2 separate regions of the Homo sapiens genome follow, and region 2 is linked to region 1. Evidence: promoter capture Hi-C in 16 types of primary human blood cells and fetal thymus (Javierre and others, 2016). All regions are on one chromosome and are shown on one strand. Each heading gives the region's core, a stretch centred on a gene start or on the middle of the fragment in contact. The rest is flanking DNA. Distances are from core to core; before and after follow the strand shown. Region 1 holds the start of REL (REL proto-oncogene, NF-kB subunit). Region 2 has its middle 70 kb from the start of RTN4.

Evidence for each region. The method cuts DNA at HindIII sites, captures the fragments that hold promoters and counts their contacts. A CHiCAGO score of 5 or more calls a contact.
Region 2: a fragment that was not itself captured here is called in contact with the fragment with the promoter of REL in region 1 in 1 of 17 cell types (M0 macrophages); the score reaches 9.1 in M0 macrophages.

The regions. Positions count from the first base shown.
Region 1 is chr2:60,879,832-60,883,116 of GRCh38, reverse strand. REL (REL proto-oncogene, NF-kB subunit) reads right to left here and starts at 1,543. Exons shown (of 10, transcript NM_001291746.2): 1 at 1,267-1,543. The coding sequence starts at 1,276. REL-DT (REL divergent transcript) reads left to right here and starts at 1,803. Exons shown (of 3, transcript NR_033980.1): 1 at 1,803-1,885. RefSeq lists an enhancer at 1,131-1,800 and a silencer at 1,409-1,948. The HindIII fragment of the contact is 7,860 bases long and covers 1-3,285 here.
Region 2 is chr2:55,118,579-55,121,863 of GRCh38, reverse strand. It overlaps a transcript of RTN4 not described here. Among named protein-coding and RNA genes, the nearest start is that of RTN4, 70 kb to the right of the region's middle. The HindIII fragment of the contact is 1,385 bases long and covers 1,063-2,447 here.

The DNA.
Region 1 (3,285 bases), core at 294-2,793:
CCTGCCTTTGCTCACGCTGCTTCCTCTGTCTGGAAAGTGTCCCCCACTCACCTTGCCAAAATCCTGGTAAAAGACCAACTCGACCCCAGGCTACTTGATTTATCCCCCCGCCCCGGCTCTCCCGTCCCCCTCAACCTTAAGCTCCAGGCAGCCCCAACCACATCTGTGTATATAGGAGACTTTCTTGCTCTGCAATGTTTCTTACAAACTTATTCCCCCCCAAAGGGAGAGATCGAGCATTTATTAAGGGAAAATATATAGTCACATAAGTGATAAAGTTGTATTCATTCCTACTCATTATTTTAAAGCTCGGATATTCTAAAACTCCTCTTTCCCCTTATTTCCAGCGAGGAGGAAGGGGGATTCAACGTCTCTATTCGTCAGATTAGGAACCTTGAGCTTTATCTCACAGTAAAAACTACATTTTTTTTTTTTTTAAATAGAGACAGGGTCTCCCTCTGTCGCCCAGGCTGGAGTGCAGGGGCGCGATCTCGGCTCACTGCAACCTCCACCTCCCAGGTTCAAGCGATTCTCCTGCCTCAGCTTCCCGAGTAGCTGGGATTACAGGCGCGCGCCACCACGCCCCGCTGATTTTTGTATTTTTAGTAGAGACGGGGTTTCACCATGTTTGCCAGGCTGGTCTCAAACTCCTGACCTCTGGTTATCCACCCGCCTCGGCCTCCCAAAGTGCTGGGAATACAGGCATGAGCCACCGCGCCCGGCCTACACTTGGTCGAAGCAACATTAACACTTAAAATACCACGGATTTTCTAATTCGTGTTAAAATACCACGGATGATTTTTAAAGCCGTGACACATTTTGTACAACTGTCAGTACAAGGGGGATCACCTCTTTGCATTTGATGAAATTAAACTAAAAAGGGGGAGAGAGCTTGCCCGAGGTCTGAAGGTTCCTCATTCCTGTTCTAAAACATAAAACCACCATCTTCAATACATATACATTTTTAATGAGAACTCTTCGTCCTCCTTTGGTTCGCTTATGACTTCCCTAATCCTAAAATCAAGTCGTTGGGAATTTCTAAGGTTCCTGCTATGACAACAGGATCGAATTACAGAGCGTGGCTTGGATTCTGCACGCAAACCCTGAAGCAGGTAACTTTTTTAAAAGCTGACAATTTTACCATATGAGATTTTAAAGACAGAACGCGCCCCAGCAAAAACTGAGCTCCCTAAACTCACTGCGGCAGGACCCCCTTCAGAAGAGCTCCTTTCCCCCGGCCCAGGCCCGCGCCCCATGAACACTCACCGGAGGCCATGGCTCCGCTCCCCGCACCTTCCCGCAGGCAGCTCCCAGCGTCCTGGCCGGAGGCGGCCGCAGTCAGTCAGTCAGGAGGCCGAGGGACCTCTGCCGGCGGGGCCCCCAGTCCCCCGACCACCCTAGAGGCCTCCTCCTTCTTCCCGCCCTCCGCTGGGTTTGCGGCTCACACCTTCCCAACCCCTGAATTCTTGCACCCCGGGTCACCCAGCGTCGCCGTCCACCGTACGGGAGCCAGGGGCAGGGGGCGGAGCGGGGAGAGCCGAGTGCTGGCCCAGCCGAGAGGCGAGCAGCCTGGCGGGAGGGGAATTTCCCGCGGCTGACGTAGGCCCGACGCAGCAACCCTCACCCGGAGGCGTGGGCGGGGCGACCTCGCGGCCGCCGCGCGCGCGACCGCCCCCAGCGCCCCGCCCCTGCCTGTCCCCGCGCACGCTCCCCGCCGGCCCCCACGCATACGCCCCCGGCGCTGCTGCGGCGGCTGGCTTGGGAGGGGGTCGAGGGAGCGGGAGCTTGGGGTGGGCTTCGGGAGCGCAGGGAACGGCGGGAGCCGGGAGGTGACGGCTAGCAGCGTGAGAAGGCCGCTGGCTCCTGAGAAATCCCCCTCCTCCAGGTTGTTCTTCCGAGTGTGGTTTAAAGTTCAGGAGCGGGCGGGAGGGTGCGGATGACGTAGAGAGGGCCGGCCGCTGGGGAGCTTTTGGGGGCGCGCGGGGCCGACTCTCCCGGCCTGGGAGGGCGACGGCCGGGGTTTTCGAGAGGTGGTTCCCCCTCTTCCCGACTTCGCACATGCAAATCTCCACCCCCGCGCCAGCGGCGGGACGTTGCGCCCTGTAGGGGGAAGTGGTGCTGCGGCGGGGGTCCTGTCTTCTTCTGTAATTCCTGTATTTGCATACGGGGACCCCCCCCCCGACTGATTTTTTTTCCTCCATCTAAATTGCGAGGGTACTGTGAACTTTACGTATTTTACCTACTGAAACCCGTTTAAACTCAAAAGGTCCGCACTTGGAGTTCGTTGTCTCATTAGGCAGTGCACTGAAGTTTAGTGGACACTATATCCTGAGATTTCACACAGATGCCAAGAAAGGCGGAAATGGAGCACACATTTAGTGCATTAAAGGACCTAGGATAACTTCGTTTCCTTCATTTGAATAGTACCTGCTATGCATCAGATAATGTCCATACTTAATCTATGACGTATTTATTATTCCTAACTTTATAGATGAAGTATTCGGGGTTCAGAGAAGTTACTTCAACATACAGTACTTCAGAATGCTGATAAAAGGCACAGTTTAAAGCCAGGGTTGTCTGACTCCAAAGCTCCATGCCCTTGCCCCTGTCCCTTACTAGTTAAAATTAGTACGGAGAGGTAATGGGGAATATCAGCCTGCCATACAAGTGCCCAAAACTGGGGGACCCATATGGGCAAATAATTTAAAATATCCTGCCAACCCCAAACTGTTCTTTCCACGAAATGCGCAATGTACAACAAAAGAATGAAACAGTTTTATTATTGGATATGTACTAAAACGTACCATGATGCACATCACAGGCAATCCACTGAAGAGAGTGCAAAGACCAAAAAAAAGGAAATCTCACCTTTTCATATGGTCAGGCACGTACAATCCATTACATACCTATTAATTGTCTTTATCCAAAGGAAAATAATGGGAAGTTATCTTGGAACCAAGAGCCAAGGCTTAAACCCTCCTAGAGACAGAAACATGGAGCACCATCCTTGATGTTCACATTTCCAAGAGATGGCTCCGAGGCCCGCAAGAAAGACCTTCTGAGGACGCAAAACTAGCAAGAGGCTTATTTAGCTTTTTAAAATATGTACATACATTTCAAAGAGACGGAAAACATTTTCAGTTCTCTGAAGGAATTTCAAAATGAAAAGTGACTGGGGGAGAGGAAAGTTCTGAGGAGGTGACATTTGAGCTGAGTCCTCAGTTTAAGAAAGAGCCGGCCAGGCGCAGTGGCTCATGCCTGTAATCCCAGCACTTTGGGAGGCTG
Region 2 (3,285 bases), core at 506-3,005, 5.8 Mb after region 1:
GAGTAACATGACATGACAAGCACTCATGTTCTCGGTACCCTGAATGAATAAATATTTACATTTTGGCATATTTATTTCAGGTTATTTTATAAAAAAGAAAACATTACTGTTCAAGTTTAAGTCCCCTTGGTACCTCACTCAAATCCCATTTTCCTTCCTCCTTCCCTGGTAATTGTCATCATCAGAGGAAGAGTAAGAATAATGGTCGATGACAATAGCATGATAATAATAATGACCTCAGTGGATAAAAGGATCTGTCATGCTTCCCAGAAAATTCTGGATACTTTGATAGATGCTCTATGATTATAATTATCTTTTCCCAGAGCCTTCTGTTCAACAGACTGGTAATAAACAGAACATGAATCAAATGGGTAGATATTAGCTAAAAGTTTAATTAGCTGAAGAAGGAGAAATAGTGGTAATGGTCTTGGGCTGACGTCTCTTGAGACCCTAATCCCAAACTTCACAGTATCTCTTAGTGATGGTTTTCTTACCAGGGCAATTCCTTGTGGTCAGTTAGATTTTTCCTGATGTTGTACTCATAGCTCCCTGAGCTTCCTCTATCATAATACTCAACACAAGATTTTTTACCAGTTTAACTGCAGGTAATTTTTACCAGACTGTGAGCTCCCTGAGAGCAGGGATCGGGACTGACTGTCTCATTCATTGGTCTATTTCCAGTCCCATGTATGGTGTCTGTCAGACACTGCACAATAAGTATTTGGTGAATGACTGGAAAACAGTCTCAGGACATAGAGCTGTTGCTGTTGTGTGGGATTCAAGGCTGATTCTGGGTTCTTGGGTTTAGTCTGGCGAAGGCATTGGATGCTGAACATTTTTATTGGGGGTATTTGGTTCTGTGGCCCCATGGGAATTTTTCCAGCTGTCCTGGTGGCCACCAGGGTTTCCTTATTGGTCAAGTTAACCCTGAAAGGAGACCCTGGGGACCCCTGTGGTTGAATGCCATGTCTGGAGCAGCTGCTGCCTGCAGCTATGTGTGTGTAAGCCGGAGACCCGAGCTTTTCTTAATCTCTGAGCCAGGCTGCTGACAATAAATAAGCTTTCCACCCAACAGCTGCTGACAGTCGCCTCCCACACAGCCCGCCCGAGCCCTGCCTGGAGATGGCATGTCTCCTTCCCCGTTGCTCTAATAATAACAACATTATATTCTCAGTCAGAGCTTGAGGGCTTCACTCAGAGACATTTTTTCACTTGCTTGAGAATGGGAGTTAGAGAAAGCATAGAAATGTAGAAAACTCATTTGGACATTTATTTAAACCATCTCAAACTTAATTTGGTCAGGTTCAAGTTGTTAAAGATCTCCTGCTCGTCTTCTGACTGCTGAGCAGTTGAAAGGGGACAAGCAGAATGGAGGGACAGTGAGAGGTTTGGGGGCCAGCCCCAGCTTGGAGGAAGGGCCCGTTGTAAAGCCTGGGCCGGAGGAAGGTTGGCAAGGCAGGGCCCAAGCCTGGGCTCTAGTTTCCCTGAGCCTGCCAGGGTGCCCAGCCAGGAGTTTCCTTCTGTCTGTGCCCACCCTGGTGAGCTGGAGATAGGGGGAAACCTGCTGGGAAAAGTGGCTTCGGAGAGCTAAAGTGAGGGGGGCAGGAAGCATTGCTTTCCTTCTAAGAACCTTTGCTTCCTTCGGCCTCAGCATCTGCCTGGGGTGACACAGGGTTGCTTTCTTCAGAGATGCGGCTGTGCTGTTCAGCCCCTCCTTAGGTTCTGCCAAGGCAAGGCCTGGGTGTCCAGAGTGGGCATGGGAATCATTCACCCACCCCACCTCTCAGTGCCGTGGGCCAGTCTGGGCCTCACGCAGCCCACAGCGAGGCATGGGTTTGCATTTTACAGTCACTTGCAATGACTGCGCTTTTTTCCAGTTCATGGGAGCAAATGGAGAGGTGTTCTGGGAATCCCATCTTCACCCTCCTGCATCTGAGGCTGGTGAGCAGCTGAGAGAAGGAGAAATGAGAAGCCAGCTGGTCAATGGTCTGACTCCTCCACCCCTGCATAATTATGGGTTGGCCATGTAGCTAATCCCGTTTTCTCAACAGCCCTATGACATGAGGGAGGAGGAGGTGGTTGTGGAAACCACATGCCCTAGATCCTAGTGGTGCTCCAGCAGTCTGGGAGCAAGGTTGCCCTGGGAGATCCCTGGGGAACTATTGACTTCTCTCCCTGATCTTTTGCTTTTTTGCCCCCTGTAATACTTTCATCATTTTCACTATGGCTAAGCGAGATTCCAAGTTGGGCTGGTCACTCTGCCCAGAGAATACAAGTTCTATGAAGAAAAGTGCTCTATAAATCCAAGGCATTATGAAATTTACTTCTACTATAAGGCTTTTATACTTGCATCCAATAAGTCTGTGTCCCCTATCTAAGGGATGAAGCCAGCCAGCTATCACACGAGCTCTCTGTTCTTAAATAGACTCAAGGCTTTGTTCAAAGCTTTTCAGGTGGATTCATTTAAAACTGCAGCTTCCCTGCCACTTTAAGAAATTCACCCTATCCATCGTCAGCCTGGTACTGTTGAGTATATTACCATTATACGTAGAGGCATAGACTATAGCTCCCAGTGTAGAAAACAAAACTTTAGATTGAGTAATTGCAGGAAACTTGACTGCAATTCACTGAGAATGTATTTTGACGAATAAGGAAAAAAACGTTTCAAAAAATAGGTCAGGGCGCTTTTAGGGAGCCCAAAAAACCCGCAAGGATTCTCTGCAGGTGTAATAATTGGGCAGTCCATCCAGCCTCCCACCTCTGTCTCCTTCCCTTGTATTTCTTTTCCAGGCTGCTGTCTGTGACAGCTCAGGAAGGGGCCCCAGGCAGCTCTCCTCTGAATTCTTCCCCCGATATCTCTCTGCCTTCTTCACACACAAATCAGCCTCACTAGCACCTCAGCTTCTATTTTTAGCTGCTGTTTTGCATTTTGTGTAGAATACAAGGAAATAGAATGCAGAATTTAGACAGGAGAAAAGGCAGGCTGCTTGCTTCCTGATAAATTGTCAGGGACCCATATCTGATGGTTGAAGCCTGATAGCAATCAGAACAGCAGGGAACAGAACGGTTGCGTCCTCATCTGCATTAGAGAGCAGTCTCTTTTCAGGGTTCCATGAGCTAGGGCCTTTCTGTCCTTTTCCCTCTGCACTGATGGCTGGTTGCATGGCTTCAGAATCCACTAGACTTAACTCCTGGTTTGGTGAAGATTCAACTTGACACAGATAATTGATAAAGTTGAGAGGGAGTTTGTGCATGTGTGTGAGTGTGTTTTGGGGGGCAGGGAGG